Regions from separate parts of the Homo sapiens genome. Here all the other regions are linked to region 2. The links are contacts of gene promoters, found by promoter capture Hi-C in human tissues and cell types (Jung and others, 2019). All regions are on one chromosome and are shown on one strand. The core of a region is centred on a gene start or on the middle of the fragment in contact, and the rest is flanking DNA. Distances in the headings are between cores, read along the strand shown. Region 1 overlaps KSR2 (kinase suppressor of ras 2). Region 2 holds the start of KSR2 (kinase suppressor of ras 2). Region 3 has its middle 13 kb from the start of RFC5.

Region 1 (3,447 bases), core at 126-2,625, 45 kb after region 2:
AACGTGGTGAAACCCCATCTCCACTAAAAATACAAAACTTAGCTGGGCATGGTGGCGTGAGCCTATAGTTCCAGCTACTTAGGAGGCTGAGGTGGGAGGACTGCTTGAGCCTGGGAGGTGGAGGATGCAGTGAGCCAAGATCAAACCACTGCACTCCAGCCTGGGCAACAGAGTGAGACCCTGTCTGAAAAAAAAAAAAAAGAAAGAAAATATAGTATAACAAACTTCCTTGTACTTACCACCCAGATTCAACAATAATCAACGTCTTGCCAATCTTGTTTCATTTGTTTCTGTCCTACTTGTGTGTGTGTGGGAGTGTTTTGACGCAAATCCCAGAGGTCATAGATTTTTATCTGTAAATACTTCAGTATGCATCTCAAACAGGTAAGGCCTTTTAAAATAATGTTACAGAAAGCTACTACCACAGCTTATAAAACAAAACATTAATTTGTCAATATCATTTAATATCCAGTCCATGTTCAAATATCTCCAGGTCTTTAAAATGTCTTGCTGCAGTTGACTTGTTTGAATTGGGATCTATACAGGTTCTTACATTGCATTTGGTTCATATGTCTCTTAAGTTTTTAACTTCCATAGTTCCACCTCCCTCTTCCCCACATTACTTATTTGTTGAAGAAACGGAGTCATTTGTACTATAGATTTTTTATGCCTCCTTAGGGGCATAGTTTAACTTCTTCCTTCATGCCCGTATTTCTTTCTTTTCTTTCTTTCTTTTTTTTTTTTTTTTTTTTTTTTGAGATGGAGCTTCACTCTTGTCAGCCAGGCTGGAGTGCAATGACACGATCTCAGCTCACTGCAACCTCTGCTTCCCGGGTTCAAGTGATTCTCCTGCCTCAGCCTCCTGAGTAGCTGGGATTACAGGCGCCTGCCACCATGCCCAGCTAAATTTTTTTGTATTTTTTTTAGTAGAGACGGGGTTTCACCATGTTGGCCAAGCTGGTCTCAAACTCCCGACCTCATGATCCGCCCGCCTCAGCCTCCCAAAGTGCTGGGATTACAGGCATGAGCCACCGTGCCTGGCCTAAATTTTTTTTCTATATAGTTATGTCACCAACTTGATATCTACAGTAGATTGATTTATTTTAGTTTTTCAGTTTTAAGTTTTAACCTCTATTAAAAAAGCAAATATAGGCCGGGCGCAGTGGCTCACGCCTGTAATCCTAGCACTTGGGGAGGCCGAGGTGGGAGGATCACCTGTGGTCGGGAGTTCGAGACCAGCCTGACCAACATGGAGAAACCCCGTCTCTACTAAGAATACAAAATTAGCCAGGCGTGGTGGCGCATGCCTGTAATCCCAGCTACTCGGGAGGCTGAGGCAGGAGATTCACTTGAACCCCGGAAGTGGAAGTTGTGGTGAGCCGAGATCACACCATTGCACTCCAGCCTGGGCAACAAGCGTGAAACTCTTGTCTCAAAAAAAAAAAAAAAGCAAATATATATTAATGTCAACTCCTTTGTTACACAAAACATAGAATACTACAAATACTGAATAAAGCAGCACACCCCTGTTTTCTTCTTTACTTAGTTGTTTGTTTCATTATGTTTATAGATTTGGATTACAGTCAATTCTCATTATTCATGGCAGTTATATATACGTATATATACACATACACATATACATACACACACACACACACACATATATATTTTAAGACAGTATCTCAAAAGTCTGTGGAGTGCAGTAGTGTGATCATAGCTCGCTGTATCCTTGACCTCCTGGGCTCAAGCGATCCTCCCACCTCAGCCTCCTGAGTAGTTGGGACTGCTGGCATGTGCCACCATGTCTGGCTAATTTTTTAAATTTTTAGTGGAGATGGGGTCTTGAACTCCTGGCCTCAAGCAGTCCTCCCACTTTGGCCTTCCAAAGTGCTGGGATTACAGGCATGAGCCACTACATCTGGCATCATGGCAGTTATATTCTATAAAGTTTTCCTGAATCCTGAGTTAACGAATATTGAATCTGCAGGGGAGATAACAGGGTTAGGTTTCTGCAAGCCTTTGGCCCTAAATTTACCAACCGATCATTTTATACGTGTTTCTGTTTAAAGACACCTTATTTTATAGATAGATATAGATAGATAGATAGATAGATGATAGATAGTTGATCCATTAACATTTAGCTCATAGCCAACAGCACTATAACTCATTCCTGAATGAAGCTTATCTAACACACACATTTTCTCTGTAAGGCACATTCCAGCCTTTTTGAGCTTAGGAACACACTAGGTAGCACTTTATCACTAACCGGGGGCATTCTAAATAGTGAAGTCACCAAAAAAGTACAAAAATATGAAGTAAGGTAGAGCGTCACCTTTCTGGATCTCACCTGGCATCATGTACATCGGGCAGCTCATGTTTTTCACTGTATGTTCGTATGTCCCCAGATGACCGTGAAAAGACCATGTGTATTGATATTGGGGTTACAAATAAATTTCAGTGAGTAGACAAATCTCCAAATGGAATAATCCACAAATAATGAGGACGGACTATTTTCTTTATTCTCCATTCTCCACTCAATTGTGAGCTCCATGAGGGGCAAGATCTTGCTGTTGTGCACCTTGTATGTGGTAGATGGATGAGTGAATCCCCAAGGAAGAGTGGATATTTTTTGCTTTGGGTCTTAAAGCTCTAAATATTTGTGTTTGGCTTAGGTGTGTTTCCCTTCTTTTGAAATGTAGTTCTTTCTCAGCAGAGCACTCGTCAGGCACAGATCTGTCAAATCTACTGAGTCATCAGATCTATCAAATCTACTGGTTCTGGGTCCTTAGAAATATTTAACATGAATGCAACCTGATATAAAATGTCCCCAAGTGCTTTATTTATGACTGTTATTCACCCCACCATGTGATCGACCCAGATTTTCTTTAAATAGGGAACTCTGCTAATATATGTGAACGGTGCTTTCCTTTACCCCAAAGTTGATTGACAGGCACTTTTCCAGCCATGCAGGCTTTGACCAAGGGGCTCATTATGTTGTCCTGATAGCTGATCTTGAGCCATGAACTTTAGCCAGTTAGGGAGAATTTCTCACAGAATTTCTCTGGGAAGAAGTTAAAGCATTTGCATTAGATTGGCTGATGAAAATTTTGTAGGATGTTGCTAATTTGAGACTTGCTGGGTTTGCCCTGTCTTCAGATAGGTGGGAACGCTTCTGGGTATGATTAACAGCCTAAATATACCGCATCAACACGCCTGCAGAGAAGCCAACCTTCCAGAGAGCTTGGGAAAGAGCCCTGGCTTCTGTCTGGGGACTGCTTCTATTAGAGTCTTCATCATGCTTTGTTTACATTTAGTGCATCAAATTCTAGGCAAATAAAAGTATACAGCCTCCATAAATAGCTGTCACACAAACATACATTTGCTAAACTCTTCAGGGATTTGCATTTATATATGTAAGAAGAGCATCTACTATTTACCGATTACTTC
Region 2 (3,488 bases), core at 22-2,521:
CAGTAAATCTTTCAGGTGTTGTGAACCACCGGTCTCAGCTGCAGCTACTCAACTCTGCTTTACAACGCAGGAGTAACCACAGACAATAAACAGATGGGTGGTGGTACTCCAATAAAACTTTACTTGTGGACACTGAGATGTGAATTTCACATAACTTTCACGTGTCACAAAATGTTATTTTCATTTTTTTCCAACCATTTTATTTACATTTTTAATTTTTGAATTTTTAGTAGCGACAGGGTCTTGCTATGTTGTTGCCCAGGTTGGTCCCAAACTCCTGGCCTCAAGCGAGCCTCCTGACTGCCTCCCAAAGTTCTGGGGATTACAGGCATGAGCCACCTCACCAGGCTTCCAAAAATTTCAAAAGGTAAAAACCATCTTAACTGTGGAGCCATCGTTTGCTGATATAACGTCAGTTAGGTATGCTGGGGTCAGGCCACACAGACACTTGTAGGACATGGGAATACTCAGAATAAGGCAAAGGCCCTTTTCCTCGCCAAATGGAAAGCCATCAGGGCGGGCCAGGCTACCAAGTCTAGGAGGCAGCTTCCTGAAATTCACGGAAGATCATCAGGTTCGCTTTATTTTTTCCCCAGTAACAAGAAAGGACAAACGAACAAAAAAGGCACACACACACAAACACACACCCAAAGGACAAACGAACAAAAAAGGCAAACACACACACACACACACACCACCCCCGAGCTAAAGACAGACGGGATGTGCCCAGGTTCACGCCGACGCCTCTCCGGCGCGCACCGAGGGTTTTAAAGTTGGGCGCACACCTGCTCCCAGCCGGAGCGCACCTGCTGAGCAGCACTCCGGCCCGGTCTCGCGAGAGCGGTGCAGGAGTAGTGGCCCCCACCCGCTCCCCGCCACCAAATCCCTCTCCCCGCCCCCTCGCCCAGCCTCCAGGCTCGGGCACACTCCCGGCCTCCCCCGCCGCCCCCGGGAGCAGGCTGGGCCCGATGCGCGCGCTGTCTCCGCGCCCCCGCCCGCCGATCGCTCGCTTGCTCGCTCGCACGCACTCCCGGTAGTAATTTCACTTTGCCACGCGAGCTCCGCAGCCCCTAGAAATCCCGCCCCCCGGCCAGGTGCGCGAGTCTGCGCGCTCCTCCTCCGCCTCCTCCGACGGGTCCCTGGCGCGCCGGGGCCGGGGCCCGGCTGGGGCGGCTGCGCGCACGGCGCCTCTCCACCAACCCGCTCCCCTGCAGGTCCCTCGCTTGGTCTCCATCCCTCTCCGGCGCTCCCTCGCTCCCCCCCGCCCTTTGATTGACAGGCAAGATGTCGGTGTGGAGCGAGGCAGGAGCGATTGCAGCAACCGTCACCCCCGGAGCCCGGCGGCGGCAGCAGCAGCAGCAGCAGCAGCGCGGGGAGGAGACAGCAGCCAGCCGCAGTAGCCGCCGCAGCCGCGGGAGCAATGCAGACAGCACCTTGAGAACGCGCTAAAGCACTCCAAACCGTGGACCATGCCGTGTCCCTGCAACTGGGAGGGGGGAAAACCAGATTTTTTTTGACATAAAAGCAAGCCAGCCAAAAATATATAATTTTGTCCTTCAAGGAGCCGGTGTGTAAAGAGTGAGCGCTATTTTCCTTCTCCTCCTCCTCCTCTCCCTCCTCCTCCTCTCCCTCCTCCTCTCTCTCCTCCTTCTCCTCTTCTTTTTCCTCCTCCTCCTCCTCCCTAAGTGTACAGACAGCATCACATCACCTGGTTTGCTTCTGAGAAACAGCATCTCTCCTTTTCAGGGACCAGAGACTCAGAGAGAGAGGAGACATTCTAATGGAGTCCGCTTGATATCCCAAAATAAAATAATAAATTTTGGCTCTTGTCCCCTCCTCCCACTCCCACCCCCTCAACCCTGTGTGAGATGTTGGATTTCTTCTTCATGAGACATTGTTGAGAAGTCGCAGTGGTTGGAGAGGCGGAGGGTAGACTACCTCTACTCCCCCCCCTCTTTTTTCTCTCTGGGAGGAGGAGGAGGGGAAGGGGGTTGCAGAGCAAGCGATGGATGAGGAAAACATGACGAAAAGCGAGGAGCAGCAGCCTCTGAGTTTGCAAAAAGCCTTACAGCAGTGCGAACTGGTCCAAAACATGATAGACTTGAGCATCTCCAACCTGGAAGGGCTTAGGACCAAATGTGCTACCTCCAACGACCTCACACAAAAAGAAATCCGGACCCTGGAGGTAGGTGTTGCCTACGGGAAAAAAAAAAAAAAAAAAAAAAAAAAAAGCAATCCTTCTTTCCCCCTCCTTTCTCCCCACGGTCCCCTTTCCCTCTGATTCTGTTTATTGGGGGCTGGGGGTGGTGGTGTGGGCAAGCAAGGTGGGCACGGTTTGCTTTTCTGTGATTTCTCTCCTTGCAAAGCCTGCATTGGATATCCTTTTACTGTGCTGCTGTCGTCTGCGCTTGGCTGGGTGGTGGTAGTAGTAGTAGTAATTGTTATTCTTTATTTATTATTATTGTTGCGGCTGTTACCGTTGTCATTCGCTTCCTCGCTGAGGAGGGAGTTCTCTCTTTTTTCCGCTTGTGGATTTGTTTATATGCCACGGGGGCTTGTGTGCCGGGTAATACATTAAGGAGCTGCAGAGAACCCACGTGACCTTGCGCATTCTGCAGGTGGTCAAAAGGTGGTTTTTGCTCACAGAATGGGGCCGCCTGTCAGTGTAGACCTCTTCTTCTCTTGGCCTTCTTCCCCTCCCTCCTTTTGCTCCTTAGATTTTTTGTTTTAAATCAGTGATATACATGTCAGGAGGCAAGATGCATGAAAAAAAAAATTCCTATGGAACTACCCATTTCCAATCCAATCGTTTTGATGCAGTGAGCTGTTGCAGGCCTAAAACGTACAAAAGGGAAAAAAAAATATGCCTCAATCAGCACACATAGGTGGTGTGGGAGAATACTCCTGAATCTCAGTGGGACTGTGAGGAAAGAGGAAAGGGGTCGGGGAGGAGGAGTTATCTTTGGCTTCTTGTGACATTCTCTCCGGCAGAACTTGAGGGGGAGTTTGAAACAGTTTTTTGGGGGAGTGGGATGGGATGAAGGGTGGTTGCAAAGTTACTCAGAAAGAAGATGGCAGAAATTATTTTTTTCTGAAGGCCATTTGGTCAAAGGAGGAAGGTTTAAAGAGGCTTAGGAAATGCCAAATGCCTGGTGTCCACGAGATCACTGGACATCTGCATTGTTCAAAATGTTTGAAGGGTTCAGCTCACTTCCTTCTCCCAAACCAACCCAGCTATACGCATGGGTTGATTAAATTTGGGAACTTCCATTAGCTGGCATCCGCCGAGGGTGGGGGCAGTGGGGCTGAGAGAACAGGGGTTCCCTCTGTGGTGGAGTGGGCATGAGCAGTACTGAGACGTTCATCTTGGTCCTGGCACATGAGTTCCCAAGGCCTGAACTCGTCAGTCCGTAGTGAATCTTGTGGCCCTCCTGCCCCTGTTGTAGCCTGGATGGGTGCTTTTCTCGGATTCGCTTTGGGTATTTCTT
Region 3 (3,708 bases), core at 1,039-3,538, 34 kb before region 2:
CAGTGTACAACTTAGCCACCCAGAACATTTTTCATTGCACCCAGTGCCACAAGAGTTTGGGGTTTAAACTTCCCTGTGCTCGTCCTTCAAAGTCCTTCTTATCACCTCTCCCCTCCTTTTCCTCCAAGAGAAGTATTAATCTATGAAGACAGGATGTGATCTGCACTCTTGTTACTCAAAGCAAGGTCCAGGGAGCAGCAGCCTTCACACAACCTGGGAGCTTCTTAGAAGTGCAGTCTCTGGCTCCACTCCTGACCTCCTGAATCCAAATCTCCATTGTAACAAGGTCTCCAGGCAATTGGTAAGCACACTTCAGTTGCCAAGCCCCAGATACCACTGCATTGTATCAAGTTTTTGCCATTGGCAAAAACCACAATTACTTTTGCACCAACTTGATATCTCTATCCCACTGTCCTGCCTCTCAAGCCTGTTCTACACCCTCACTGTGAATTCTTCAGGGACTTGGGCCACTCTGCTCTCATACAACACTCTCACCTCCTCCCCTTGAAGGGCCTGGCGTTTTGACAATTCAAATTTAAGTCCCAAAGTTTCTAGGCTTTCAAGTTCCCCTGGACGAGGCAAGCCCAATATTCCAGAACTCTAAGGCTTAATCGCTTGTGGGGAAGAAATCCTCCTTAGTCTTTTGTATTGAGTCTGCAGCAGTAAATATTAATAAGTCTAGTTAATTTCTCAACCATGTTATTCTGTCACACTAATAATAGTCCCTCTAGGCTGGTAAAATTTAAAAAAGATTTATTTTGAAATTTTCCCTTTTTCTCCCTACATGGAATCCCGTGTAATTTCCCTAGGCTAGAAACCCCAAAGTCGTGGGGACTGAGAAAGATAAAAAGGTGTTAATAAGGATGTGGTCAAAGTACTTACATTATCCTAGCCATGTTTGGCAGTGGTCCAGCCTGAGACCACACAGCTTTTGGGTTTGTGACATTAAAAATGCGGAGATGGGCTGGGCACGGTGGCTCACGCCTGTAATCCCAGCACTTTGGGAGGCCAAGGCAGGCGGATCACCTGAGGTCAGGAGTTCAAGACCAGCCTGGCCAACGTGGTGAAACCCTGTCTCTACAAAAATACAAAAAATTAGCCAGGCATGATGGCGGGTGCCTGTAATCCCAGCTACTCAGGAGGCTGGGGCGGAAGAATCACTGGAACCTGGGAGGCAGAGGTTGCAGTGAGCCAAAATCATGCCATTGCACCCCAGCCTGGGTGACAGAGTGAGACTCCATCTCAAAAAAAAAAAAAAAAAGCAAGTAAATTAAAAAAGAAAATGCAGAGATGAAAAAGCAATTGGGTGCATACCTATTGTAAGCTCTGTGTGCACAACAAGGGGACAGTTTATTGCCCCTCTGCCATCATACTAGGGACCCTGGGGATGTAAGGAAGTGAGAAATAGACCTTAATATTGGCAAAAGACTGTAGAATTCATTTGAGAATGCCAAGTAATAAGAAAATGCAAATCAGTAGCATTATTTATGTTGCATGGCAGAGTTACACAACATTTTGTTATATAGTAGATGCTACACAAAGAATGGCTGTTTATAGACATTTTATCCCATTCCTCCAGTTCCTCTAAACTCACTCTTTCAAAGCATTTGGCCCAAGTTTAATGGCTTTTTTTTTTTTTGACAGGGTATCACTCTTGTCCAGGCTGGAGTGCAGTGGCTCTATTTCAGCTCACTGTAGCCTCTGCCTCCTGGCCTCAAGCAATCCTTTCACCTCAGCCTCTCGAGTAACTGGGACCACAGGTACATGCCACCATGCCCGGCTAATATTTTGGTATTTTTTGTAGAGACAGGGTTTCACCATATTGCCCAGGCTGGTCTTGAACTCCTGGGCTCAAGAGATCCACCTGCCTCAGCCTCCCAAAGTGCTGGCATTACAGTTGTGAGCCACTGCACCTGGCCAGGCAATGTGATTTTTAAAGTGCATATTTTAATTTTTAATTTTTATTTTTTTGAGATGGAGTCTGTCTCTGTCATCCAGGCTGGAGTGCAATGGTGCAATCTTGGCTCACCGTAACCTCTGTCTCCCAGGTTCAAGCGATCCTCCTGCCTCAGCCTCCCAAGTAGCTGGGATTACAAATGTGCACCACCACACCTGGCTAATTTTTGTATTTATCAGTAGAGATGGGGTTTCAACGTGTTGGCCAGGCTGGTCTTGAACTACTGACCTCAAGTGATCCCCCCCGCCTCAGCCTCCCAAAGTGCTGGGATTACAGGCATGAGCCATCACACGTGGCCCCTAAAATGTACATTTTAAATAAATGCAATGCTGAAAATTACAGCAAGAGAGTAAGCATTGAAAATTGGGCCAGGCCGCAGTAGCTAATGCCTGCAATCCCAGCACTTTGGGAGGCCAAGGCAGGCAGATTACCTGAGGTCAGGAGTTCGAGACCAGTCTGGCCAACATGGTGAAACCCCACCTCTACTAAAAATACAAAAATTAGCCGGGCGTGGTGGCACATGCCTGTAATCCCAGCTACTCGGGAGGCTGCAGCAGGAGAATCACTGAAACCCAGGAGGTGAAGGTTGCAGTGAGCTGAGATCATACCATTGCACTCCAGCCTGGGTGACAGAGCAAGATTCCCTCTCAAAAAAAAAAGAAAAGAAAAGAAAATTGGGCCAGGCATGGTGCTGCATACCTGTAATCCCAGATTTTGGGAGGCCAATGCAGGTGAATTGCTTGAGCCCAGGAGTTCAAGACCAGCCTGGGCCACAAGGCAAAATTTCATCTCTATTAGAATAATAATAATAATAATAATAATAATAATAATAATAATAATAATACTAAAGAAAAGAAAACAAAATTGAGGCACCAAGTTTGCCCCAAGTCAATATGGAGGAGAATTTTTAAGCTTGAAGATATTTTTTGTGGTTCAAATATAGACTATCAAAATATATTTTTTAAAATGCTTTAAGATTATTCTTTTAAATGAGAAGCACCTTAGAGTAAGTCTTGCTCTGAACTGAAGAAACTTGGCAGATCTGCAGGAAATTAAAATATCTGGCACATTCACTAATATGAAGATTGGACAATTGTGTCATGAAAAAGGCTTGAAAAACATTTGTTTTTCTTGTTTTGTTTTGTTTTGTGACAGGGTCTTGCTCTGTTGCCCAGGCTGGAGTGCAGTGGTGGCACCATCCCCCAGTCTTGCTCCATCCTCCCACCTCAGCCTCTCTAGTAGCTGGGACTACAGGCACATATCACCACACTCAGCTAGTTTTTGTTTATTAGGACTTGAAATTTAAAGATCATTTAAAGTACAAATTTTAACAAAAGCAAATTTCTTTCTTAAAAGAGTAACTAAAGTTTCCTGAGTCACATGAGAGTAAATCATTTTATATCCTCTGCTTTAGTTTTTTTCTTAATTTAAGAGATATTGGACAAAAATAACATATTCAATATGTCATATTTTGGGAAATGTCAACCAGAACTGGCTTGTTGAATATGGGTTATCGTCAGTTTGAGCCAATTAATTAAAAATCTGTCCTTAATGCTAAACTCAAATAAGTTCTTGGTTTTGATACAACTTCTAGTTTTCTTCTGTTGCTCAGGTGATTTGAAATTATAATTGAGAATAAATTTGGCAAAATTAACACATAAAAGGGCATCACTGAAAACATTTTCTATTGCATAATTCCAAATGCCATGGAAGAAGTTGTCATATTTGGATAGTCACAGAACTTTAATTCC

What was found. Contacts are between HindIII fragments. The study calls those that stand out against the background at their distance.
Region 1: a contact is called between a fragment that was not itself captured here and the fragment with the promoter of KSR2 in region 2, in 1 of the 25 tissues and cell types used here (ovary).
Region 3: a contact is called between a fragment that was not itself captured here and the fragment with the promoter of KSR2 in region 2, in 1 of the 25 tissues and cell types used here (mesendoderm cells).

Annotation. Positions count from the first base shown.
Region 1 is chr12:117,921,882-117,925,328 of GRCh38, reverse strand. The region is part of intron 1 of KSR2 (kinase suppressor of ras 2); the gene reads left to right. Among named protein-coding and RNA genes, the nearest start is that of KSR2, 45 kb to the left of the region's middle. The HindIII fragment of the contact is 6,411 bases long and covers 1-3,447 here.
Region 2 is chr12:117,966,773-117,970,260 of GRCh38, reverse strand. It overlaps KSR2 (kinase suppressor of ras 2), which reads left to right and starts at 1,271. Exons shown (of 20, transcript NM_173598.6): 1 at 1,271-2,185. The coding sequence starts at 2,006. RefSeq lists silencers at 869-978, 989-1,258. The HindIII fragment of the contact is 12,977 bases long and covers 1-3,488 here.
Region 3 is chr12:118,001,823-118,005,530 of GRCh38, reverse strand. No RefSeq gene overlaps it. Among named protein-coding and RNA genes, the nearest start is that of RFC5, 13 kb to the left of the region's middle. RefSeq lists a silencer at 973-1,165. The HindIII fragment of the contact is 6,287 bases long and covers 1-3,708 here.